3 separate regions of the Homo sapiens genome follow, and regions 2 and 3 are each linked to region 1. The links are contacts of gene promoters, found by promoter capture Hi-C in human tissues and cell types (Jung and others, 2019). All regions are on one chromosome and are shown on one strand. Each heading gives the region's core, a stretch centred on a gene start or on the middle of the fragment in contact. The rest is flanking DNA. Distances are from core to core; before and after follow the strand shown. Region 1 holds the start of GTPBP1 (GTP binding protein 1). Region 2 overlaps MIEF1 (mitochondrial elongation factor 1). Region 3 overlaps TAB1 (TGF-beta activated kinase 1 (MAP3K7) binding protein 1).

Region 1 (3,729 bases), core at 1,230-3,729:
AGGCCAGTGGCTTCCAGGATAACAAAAGAATTCTGTTCTATCTTGTCTTAGCTATATTGAATATTTGGGAATGAAAACTGCCTGCAAGACTCATCTTCATCAACAAAGCACCATCACCATTACCACTACGAGGAGTATTAGCACCGTCATTTTGCAAATGTCTGCCAATAACATTGAAGTGTCAACCATTTACTTGGGTAAGCCATTTGGCAATCAGACCCCATTCTCTAACCACTCCTGTGTGACCTTGGACAAAGAATTTAACCACTCTGAGTTTCAGTTTTTCAATCTATAAAACGGAGCTAATACTACCTGCATCCTAAGGCCACTGTAAAGAGCAAATATAATAACATGTAAAGCATCTAGTCCACAGCTCAATAAATGTGAAACTACAAGGTTTTCTTCACCCAATCATTCCCAGAAAAACCTTGTTGGATGAAACTAGCCACCACTATTCACTAAGTGTTTCTCCCTTTGGAAGCTCTCGGAGCCTTAGGTCTCCACATTTTCTATCGTAAGGACATGAACCTTTCGCTTCTAATCTGTTCCTCCGGAATCAATCTATTCAACCCAACCCTTCTCTCCCTCCACACCATCACTTTTTCTTTTTGATATCATCGATATTAATATACATATGATTTTTTTTAATTGTAAGGAGGACTTCCCCAGCTATGTGATGAAATAACACTTCTAGGAATATTAAATGAGCTGGTCAAGAAATGAAGGTACTACCGTCTTTGCAACTCTGCCCTGCAATTTCCTATCATGTTTCTTCAGCACCTTGACCATGTGTTGACATCCAGTTTGTTTGCTCTTGAGTCAGGTCCATAATCTTGTAACTTCCTGAGTTGACTCATCAGAGCTTGTAATTGTAACCTGGATGTTTCCTGGGTCTTTTACATCGTCCTGGCCATCCCTCTCTCTAAGTTTGGCCATCCTCATTATGGCCTTACAGGCACAAGACAGGACCAACTTTGACAGGCTAGCTGGCTTCCAAGTGCTCACCTGAGACTACAATGGCAAAGAGCAGTTGAAAATAACTTGCTTAGGTTGCAGGGAAAGTTCCTCCCCAGTTTAGGACCAAGTTTCATGCAAATTTGCCGCCATAAACTATAAAAAGTCACAAACATTTTCAAAGCTGGATAAAATGTCTATCGTAACTATCCTACAAATGTAAGTGGTGGTATTGGTGTTCTATCTTTCACCCACTGCTATTTAATCTGCACAGGAAATTAGGAACTATCTCGTTCACTTCAAACATTTACTGAGTCTCTAGTATGCATCAGGCACTATTAGGTGTCTTCTTAAATATTTCTAATTTTTACAACCCATCTGTACTTTCTTAAGATGAGGTGGTTGGAGAACTGAAAGGTTAAGAAACTTTCCCAACGTCACAGAGCCTTTCGATGGTAGGGCAGGAAAGGGAACCCAGCCCTGTCTGACTCCCAAGTTGGCATTCTTTCCCTAAGGAACGTTAAGCACCTTCAAAACACCAGTCACATCTTGTATTTACTTTTCTATTCTTCACAATGTCAAGCCGTTGGCGAGGCCTTAATTCCTGCCTACCTTCTCGACAGCTCAAAAAACACGGTTTTAAACGTCCTTCACTGCTCCACTCATACAAGATGAGCTTCCACTCACAGGATAGCGAGACTAAGGAGCCTGACCATCTTTCCATTTTGTTTCGGGTGGCCTCGAAAAGTAGACATTCTCGGACATGCTCCTCCCCAGCTGAGCGACTACTTTCTGTTTCCTTTCCCGAGTCTGGGAAGAGACGCGGCGGCCACCCTGCCCTGGCCTCCGACTACCTGTCTTCATGAGCGTCTCGGCCCCCTGCCCGGGCCCCCTCGCCCCTCTGCTGTCCCGCGCGGTCCAGGGAGAGGAGACTCTCGGTCTCCGAATCCCCTCAAGTGGGGACCCGAAGAACGGGGAGGGGCACTGAGCGGGGACAGGGAACGCGCGGAGCGCAGCTGGCATCGGGCGCCCCCGTTCCACGTGGCAGAGCCGAGGGGTTACGATCTCGGCGGGAGACGGGAGGGCGGGAGGCTGGGTTGGCGACGCGGGGGAGCCAAGGTGGGTGCGGGGACCATGGGGACGGCCCCTCGCGCCGCGAACCCCCGCACGTCCCGGAGACTAGCAGGTGGGCGGGCTCGGCCCCTTCTTCCCGTTCCGCGCTCCCCGCGGACAGGGCGGCCGCTGGCCCCGCCGTCGCCCGGGAGACTGCTCGGCCAGCCGCCCGCTCCCCTCAGCGCCCGCCGCCGCCGCCCGGGCCTACCTTGCTGGTGAGGTCCAGCTCTGGCTCGCCGTTGAGCGCCTCGCCGTCCTCGCTGCAGTCCGAGTCAAAGCCGCCGTGGAGTCGGGCGGCGGCCGCCGCGGCCCTGGCCGCCCCCGGGGAGCTGGGCTCGGGGGCGAACATAGAGGCCGGGACCGGCGAGTCCATCGCGGAGCGACTGCGCTCCGTCGCCATCTTTAATAACTTAGGCTAATTCGTAGCCGGCTTCCCTCCCTCCCAGGCTCATTTGACTAATCTATGCACAGAGCCCCGCCCCGCTCCTTATCGGAATAATTTATGCAAAACTCCAGCCGCGTACTGGGTGACACGTACCTCTAGCTAAGAAACAGTCGACTAGGCCTCTCAGCCACCAATCCCTGCAGAGCTTTCAAGTACCTAATGAATAATTAATGAGGCCCAAATCCCAACAACAAATGTCTGAGACGTCACGCGCCCTGCTCCCAGCTTGGGAGGGGGCAGTACCGAGTCCCCGCTACCCGCCTGAAGCCTTCCCGCCAACGGAAGCAGAGAAGTGTCTGACTGACACAGCAGCCATCCAATGAGGAGAGAAATACAAACAACGTTACTCGTCAACGCCCCTTCACTCTCCTTGTTTCCAGAGGCGGTACTAAGCCTGCAAATCTTACTGCAAAACAGTAGGCGCTGTAAGCCTTCCGATGACGGACAAGGGCAGGACCCAATCGAGTCATAGAACAGGTCCCGCGCCTGGACCTGCTCATGGAGATAGTAAACTGCAAAATGAGCCTCCCACTCGATTCAGTGACTGAGGCAGTTGCTGGAACGCCGATGTCCAACGTGCTGGCATGCTCCAGGCAACTTTAATAGTAGGATCGATGCTGTAAGTTCCAAGAGTTGTAATACTATAGCAGCCAGAGTGAGGCAATAATTAAATGCTGACCTTAGGGAGAATTCTCCATTCACTGCCTTTGCGGAGGCAATCACACGAACTAAAAACAGAGGCAAGCAGCTAAAATTAAAAGCCAAAAAACACCTCACCACTTTTGTGGTGAACTGCTAAACCGAAATCTAGGGTCTCATAAGGTAGTTTCCTATGGATTATTTTTCCAGTGTCATCAGTTGTGAAAAGCCCCAACCCAAAATGCCATCAACACACGTTTTAGTGTCTTGAATTCCTGTTTCAAAAGCCGGAAAAGCCTAGGCCGTCATTGTTTGGCGAAATTAGGGATTAACCAACGTCTATGAATGTCGGCCTTGGCCACTCGAACCAGGCATCAAGCAAACAAGAGCATGTTTGAGAAGATAAGGAATCCAAGACTTAGGGTTTGGACCTAAACCCTAAATCTTTAGTGAGCAAGTGGCAGGATTGAAAATGGCTTTCAGTTTTGGGGATCTACCTGAGAAGAAAGAGACAGTCTCTTCTTGTCCCTGTTTTCCACTACTATCAAGTCTTATTTGCACAAACACAGCTGGGAATC
Region 2 (3,729 bases), core at 548-3,047, 800 kb before region 1:
TTACCCGCTTAACTGCCAGCGTGGCGATGCCCAGCATGGCCGCTCCACCCACCCCCAGCACCAGCCGGGCATTGGAGAGCACAAAGTCAATGGCCGTGCCAATGCCATTGTCATCCTTCTTGCCTTTGCGCTCACCAGCGCCTGCCATTGCTCATCTGAGAATGAAGACAGAACACGGCCATAAGTACTGGGACCCCAAGAACCTCCCTCCCCTAACAAGCCAAACCCCAACAAGTACAGGGTACTCTGTGAGTTCCAGCAACCCAAATCTTCTTGCCTCCAGCACTGCATGCTTTAGGGTCTGGAGGGAGCTACAATGTCCCATGATAGATCAGGATGCAAGGAGGAGGGGCTGATCTTGGGTATTGTAGGAAAACTTTCCCCAAGCTAGTGAGATTAAGAAAGCATTAAGCTCAGTGTCAGTCCTTTTTTGTATTACAATGAAGTACCCCACCATGCAAAACAGCCCTCTCTCTGCCCCTTTACAATGTTAAAATGCAGGTCTCTACCCCTTCACAATGTTATAATGCAGGTCTCTACCCCTTCACAGGGGTTATAATGCAGGTCTCTACCCCTTCACAGGGGTTATAAAGCAGGTCTCTACCCCTTCACAGGGGTTATAATGCAGGTCTCTACCCCTTCACAGGGGTTATAATGCAGGTCTCTCTACCCCTTCACAGAGGTTATAAAGCAGGTCTCTCTACCCCATCACAGGGGTTATAATGCAGGTCATTTCTTCGTCCTTTGGCCACTACTTTGTGGAAGGTTAGATCTGAGCGGGACCTTGGAGCTCATCTAATGCCATCACATCACCTCACACAGAGGTTCTCAACATAGGGAGGTGATGTGTCAGGTCTCAGAGAAAAGAAATGGTACAGGCGCAGTGGCTCATGCCTATAATCCTAGCTACCCGGGAGGCTGAGGTGGGAAGATCGCTTGTGGCCAGAAGTTCAAGACCAACCTGAGCAACATGGCAAGACCCCCATCTCCAAAAGTAAAAGATAAAAATAAATTGAGCATGGTGGCACATGCCTGTAGTCCTATCTACTTAGGAGGCTGAGGCAGGAGGAATGCTTGAGCCCAGGAGTTTGAGGCTACAGTGAGCTATGATCACGCCACTGCACTCTAGCCTCAGTGACAGAGTGAGACCCCATCTCTTAAAAATAAAAATAAAAAAACAAAATGGGCCGGGCACGGTGACTCACGCCTGTAATCCCAGCACTTTGGGAGGCCGAGGCAGGCGGATCACCTGAGATCAGGAGTTCAAGACAAGCCTGGCCAACATGGAGAAACCCCGTCACTACTAAAAATATAAAATTAGCCAGATGTGACAGCGCATGCCTGTAATCCCAGCTTCTCAGGAGGCTGAGACAGGAGAATCCCTTGAACCCGGAAGGCGGAGGTTGCAGTGAGCCGAGATCACACGATTGCACTCTAGCCTGGGTAACAAGAGCTAAACTCCGTCTCAAAAACGAAAACAAAACGACACAGTCATCTCCAGAACTCAGGACTCCCCACTCCTTGTATGACGCTTTTTCTACTGTACCATGCTCACCCTTACCCAAATCAAATCGGCCCTTATTCTATCTACTTTCTGCAAACAAAACACAAAACAACATGTACCAAACATCCTGCACACGGAACTGAAACTACACGTCCATATGTGAGAAAGGTCCCTCCATGGACCCTCCTACTTGACAAATGCTTTGTTTCTTGAGAGAAGTGCGCAGCGGGGACTATAAAAGCTTAGGTGAGACTGGTATACCGGGAGATAAAAAACACAAAGGACACTGCAGACTCGACTGCTAACTGGAAAACAAAACACCCATCTGCTCGATTACACCTGGAAGAGGAACTAAAAATGTGTTCACCTGAAAGAAGTACTTGGGCACCACAGCGAAGAGGCTGGCCTCCAGTGCAGTGCTCAGGCCAGTGCTGCTCCCGACTACAGTGGAGTCTTCCTGACTGCAGCAGCAGCAGTCCCCAGATAAGCCCATTCCTGTGGAGTTAGAACCCTGGGCCTGAGCCGGATAAAGGATGACAGTGTGATTCAGATCGGAATACCACTCAGCATGCTGCCACTCTCCTCTATAATATCCCGTGTCCTTCACACCAGGAATGACATAAGGGAAAACAAAGTCGGATACCATTTAGCGTCCCAGAATGGGAGGACATCAAGAGACAGGATCAGCCGGGCGCGGTGGCTCACACCTGTAATCCCAGCACTTTGGGAGGCCAAGGTGGGTGGATCACGAGGTCGGAAGTTCAAGACCAGCCTGGCCAACATAGTGAAACCCCATCTCTACTAAAAATACAAAAAATTAGCCAGGCATGATGGTGCATGCCTGTAATCCCAGCTACTCGGGAGGCCAAGGCAGGAGAATCACCATTGCACTCCAGCCTGGGTGACAGAGCAAGACTCCGTCTTGAAGAAAAAAAAAAAAGGATCACTGAGGATTATCTTCCATGTAAAATAACATTCCTTCTAATACCGTGTTACAAGTGGATATTTCTAGCTTCCACATCTTACGCTCCTGCCTCTACCTCCCTGAAAAACAAAGAAATATTTCTGACTCTATTATTCCAGTAATTGAGTTAACTAAGAGTCACTGTCAAGCCCAAAAATATTTTTTTCCCTAACTAGAGTTCACACCTTGGGGGTACTTTCCTTTTCTCTACCATTTACAGTCAATAGAGGCTTCAGGTTTAGGGACATGAAAGACTATTTCGCCAAACCGAGTACATTCCCACCTCAAATGCACAGAGCAAAGCCAGGGAGAAGAGATAACGTTTGTATTTACAGGTGGAATCAGGGAAGAACAGCAGACACCCTCTCTCCAGTGGCCACTGAGATAGAGACGGGACAAACCAAACTTAGCAGAGGCAAGATAACCCAATCAGGAGAAAAGCAGAACACTATACATTTCCCCACACATAACAATGTCTCTTGTTTTAACTCTTTACTGAAATATTTACAATAGGGAGAGCCACTGGACACATGTGCCCTCTAAATGATCCTTGAGTGTGATGCAGCAGGGCCAGAAGGGCACCTCCTCACTCAGGGCAGAAGCAGCCTCCCTGGACCATTTTAGTCCTTGGTGCCCTTCTGATGACTGGTGAGAGCAAGGTGGTGCTACAGATGACAGAACAGAGCGTGGGTTTTAGAGTCAGAAATCCTGAGATACAGAACTTGCCTTGAGCCCTGACTTATTAGCTGGGTGACCTCAAATGAGTTACTTAACACCTCAGCTACGAAAAGGGGATAATGGTCCCCGCGTGGGACCAAATCACAGGGTTGTAGTGAGGAAAAACCATTCACTGCAATCCTGTATGTGAACGGTATAAACTGTATTGCAGTGGATGGTCTATAAACTGTAAAAGTGCTCCACAAATGAGTTCTCCTCTAGTCTTTTAAGATTTCCATCCACAGGACAAAGGTCAGCTTCCAGAAGTCAGTCAGCAACCCAGACTGTCCTCTGAGTGACAGTGCACCTTTTGAGACTGCTCTAAAACGGCCTTGAAAATTCGCAGTGATGCCATCTTGGACTTGAGATCAAAACTATTTTTTCTTTTTTTTTGAGACTGAGTATCACTCTGTCACCCAGGCTGGAGTATAGTGGGGCAATCCCGGCTCACTGCAACCTCCACCTCCCAGGTTCAAGTGATTCTCCTGCTTCAGCCTCCCTAGTAGCTGGGATTACAGGCATGAGCCACCACACCCTGCTAATT
Region 3 (3,729 bases), core at 400-2,899, 700 kb before region 1:
CGAGGTCAAGAGATTGAGACCATCCTGGCTAACATGGTGAAAACCCGTCTCTACTAAAAATACAAAAAATTAGGCTGGGCACGGTGGCTCACACCTGCAATCTGAGCACTTTAGGAGGCCGAGACCGGCGAATCACGAGGTCAGGAGATCGAGACCATCCTGGCTAACACAGCAAAACCCCGTCTCTACTAAAAATACAAAAAATTAGCCGGGCGTGGTGGCAGACGCCTGTAGTCCCATCTACTATCGGGAAGCTGAGGAAGGAGAATCGCTGGAACCCGGGAGGCAGAGCGTGCAGTGAGCCGAGATCACGCCACTGCACTCCAGCCTGGGAGACAGAGTGAGGCTCCCTCTCAAAAAAAAAAAACAAAACAACAACAAATGATCAGGGCCATAGCAAGGCTGCCCACTCTATTACTTCACACAGAACTGGAGGTGTTAGCCCAGGCAGTTAGACAGAGTAAAGAATGAGAGCATAAAAACCGGGAAAGAAGTCATTTCTATTTGCAGTTGATAGGACAGTACGCCTGGCAACCCTAAAGAATCAATGAAAAACTAATGCAAACAGAAAAAGAAATCAGTTAGGCGGCAGGATAGAAAATCAAAGTATGCAAATCAACAGCTTTCATATACCCAAGAGAAGATGAGCATCTAGCCTCTATGTAATGTAAAATAACAAAGTCCTTTTCCTGTGAGTTTCTACCATGTCTGTCTCCCCCAGCCAAACTACTATAGAAGGTTGTTTTAAATCTAAATTTATATCAGTCGAATTACATCTTAATGCATTCATCCCAGCCTTCCAGACTGTCGAAAGTTTTGAATTTTGCCCTTTGACAGATTAACAATCTCACTCAGCTGTGTATCTTGTACAGACAAGGCCTTCTACTCACTGTTCCAAACAATCTCTAAAAAACTGTGACCAGAGGCCGGGCGCAGTGGCTCACGCCTGTAATCCCAGCACTTTGGGAGGCCAAGGCGGGCAGATCATGAGGTCAAGAGATTGAGACCATCCTGGCTAACACGGTGAAACCCCGTCTCTACTAAAAATACAAAAAAATTAGGTGGGCGTGGTGGTGGGTGCCTGTAGTCCCAGCTACTCCAGAGGCGGAGGCAGGAGAATGGTGTGAACCCGGGAGGCAGAGCTTGCAGTGAGCCGAGATGGCGCCACTGCACTCCAGCCTGGGCGACACAGCAAGACTCCGTCTCAAAAATAAAAAATAAATTAAAAAAAAATAAAGAAAGAGTAAGAAAAAAATTACCCAAAGAGCATATGTAAAAGTACCCATGGTAAGGCAAAGCCTGTCCCTTTCTGTCTTTTTAAGTCCTATCTACCCTAAAGGCACTGCTCAAATCCAACTAGGGCCAGAGGCCCATGATTCCCAAACCTCAATCATCCACTGACCATCTTCAAGAAACTATCTTTCACTCAAATGATTCCTTTTTTTTTTTTTTTTTTTTTGGTGACAGTCTCACTCTGTCGCCCAGGCTGGAGTGCAGTGGCGCGATCTTGGCTCACTGCAAGCTCTGCCCCTCCAGGTTTAAGCAATTCTCTGCCTCAGCCTCTGGAGTAGCTGGGATTACAGGTGCGTGCCACCATGCCCGGCTAATTTTTTGTATTTTTAGTAGAGACGTGGTTTCACCATCTTGGCCAGGCTGGTCTTGAACTCCTGACCTTGTGATCCACACGCCTTGGCCTCCCAAAGTGGCCCTGTGGCAACCATTGTGCTATAGCCTGGTATTGTTAATTAGATTACCTTATTTCACTGATTTGAAGACCTACATTTTCCACATGTTAACGTCTCTGGAGTTGGTATGTTACAAGTTAATTAGCTGTGAGTTCTCTTTCTGAGCAATAGACAAAACACTGACGTGTCCTTAAAACATTGGTGTCTTAGATCCAATGACACATGGGCAGTTTCTCACGTAATTCGGGCGCTCGCCAGACACTGGTTCACTACAGTGGCCGGAGAACCTCAGGAGGTTCTACCAAGTGGGAGTGAGAGTATCTGGTCTTCTCCGTGTTCCCCAGCGGACTCACGCTGCTGCAGCTGAGTAGGCTTGGATCGTGTTCTCCCGTCCCTTTCCATCTCCATCGAGGATTAGCCATACCGAGCGTCCATTGCTGATTCCATTAAAGCCTACAGGACTGCCAAGTCTCTCGCTTCCTTCCTCCACATTTCTGAACAATTTTCAGAAAGGTCATGTACTTTCTATTCACACAAACCACCCACCCCTCCACCCCTGCACACACTGATGCATACTTTCTCCCACGCCCCCAAATGCCAGGCCTGCCAGCACCAGCCGTGAGCGGCGCTGGAGCGCAGGGAGCAAGAGTCTGCGAGAAGCTGAGAAGGGGGCGTCTCTCACTCAGCACAGCCTCATCGCGGAGCCACTGCAACACACACAACAGCGAACGCAGGACTTAACTCTTCCATGTCTGAGAAATGAACTGCTCATGAGAAATTTCACAAGAATACGTTAAGAAGCCTGTTTCAAAAGACCTAATTTTGATTTGATTTTGTGAAGGAGTTTCCAAAATTAATGTTTCGGTATGAAAAGCTTCTACAGTGATCCAACAGTATTTAACCCAACAAGGCCTTTACAAACACCCTGTGCATGATGTAAGCATTCACTCCTCATGTATATATGTGTCCATGTCACATAATAGTTCACAAAGTACCCACACAGACTCATCTCAAAGTCCTGGGCAGCAGAAATGGACAAAGAATGGTTCCAAGCTCAGGCCACAGCTTGAATACCAAATTATGCTATGAAAAGGCCAAGTGTTTTTGTGGTAAAAGCACCCACATTCCTTAGAAGCAAAAAGGAAGCTCAGAAAGGGAGACTCACAACCCCAGGAAGAGGGCTCGGAGCAGGGGAGCAGCAGACCTTTCTCTCCAAAAAGCTTCCAAGGCCCCAATGCCCCCACCACCTCCAACCTTCCGGATGACCCACTTCTCTGAGACCAGCTCCACTCCTGGCCCCCACTTCTCCCACCGGAGTTTTCATTGAAGGTTCTCCATGTCGTCATCCTAAAGAGCTCCTCATTCATTCTTAAAGGGGCTAATAATCATTGTTGGCACTTCCAATGTGCTAGGGCAGCAGCTGGGTGTATGCAATGGGTATAGGTGGTACCCCCATGGACCTTTTTATTTTAGTGGCTATGTATTTATTTTAACATCCTTTAGATAAATTACACAGATAGCAGCACCTATGATCTCAGATATAATTGCTCAGGACATGTCGAAGTTTAAAAAATTGATTTTAAGCTTACTTTCTTTTTTTTTTTTTAAACAGGTCTTGCTGTGTCACCCAGCCTGGAGTGCAGTGAGGGGATCATAGCCTCACTACAACCTCAAACTTCTGGGCTCAGGCAATCACCCCATTAAGTCTCCTAAGTACTACAGGCACATACCACCATGCCTCACTAATTTTTTTAAAGACTGAATCTCACTATGTTGCCCGAGCTGATCTGGAACTCCTGGCCTCAAGTGATCCTCCTGCCTCAGCCTCCCAAAGGGCTGGGATTCCAGGCATGAGCCACCATGCCTAGCCTGATTTTCTTTTTTATAATTAAGTAACAGTACAGGCAAAATCAAACTCTTGATTCCCCCTGCCCCAGGGTGCCCCTCTTCCAGGGCTCCCTCACCCCGTAAATGGCACCACTGTTGTTTAAACCAAAACCTTAAGAGTCCTTTTTGACTCTTCTTCCTCTGTCACACACCTCAC

The links. The method cuts DNA at HindIII sites, captures the fragments that hold promoters and counts their contacts. A contact is called where the count stands out against the background at its distance.
Region 2: a contact is called between a fragment that was not itself captured here and the fragment with the promoter of GTPBP1 in region 1, in 1 of the 25 tissues and cell types used here (dorsolateral prefrontal cortex).
Region 3: a contact is called between a fragment that was not itself captured here and the fragment with the promoter of GTPBP1 in region 1, in 1 of the 25 tissues and cell types used here (dorsolateral prefrontal cortex).

Annotation. Positions count from the first base shown.
Region 1 is chr22:38,704,694-38,708,422 of GRCh38, reverse strand. It overlaps GTPBP1 (GTP binding protein 1), which reads right to left and starts at 2,479. Exons shown (of 12, transcript NM_004286.5): 1 at 2,276-2,479. The coding sequence starts at 2,467. RefSeq lists silencers at 1,831-1,970, 2,151-2,560, 2,881-3,030 and enhancers at 1,664-2,349, 2,651-2,800, 2,350-3,035, 3,036-3,721. The HindIII fragment of the contact is 4,768 bases long and covers 1,458-3,729 here.
Region 2 is chr22:39,507,714-39,511,442 of GRCh38, reverse strand. MIEF1 (mitochondrial elongation factor 1) reads right to left here. Exons shown (of 6, transcript NM_019008.6): 3 at 5-155. The coding sequence starts at 148. Among named protein-coding and RNA genes, the nearest start is that of MIURF, 5.3 kb to the right of the region's middle. RefSeq lists an enhancer at 342-867. The HindIII fragment of the contact is 6,788 bases long and covers 1-3,729 here.
Region 3 is chr22:39,404,128-39,407,856 of GRCh38, reverse strand. All of the region lies in intron 1 of TAB1 (TGF-beta activated kinase 1 (MAP3K7) binding protein 1), which reads right to left. Among named protein-coding and RNA genes, the nearest start is that of TAB1, 6.2 kb to the right of the region's middle. The HindIII fragment of the contact is 6,290 bases long and covers 1-3,729 here.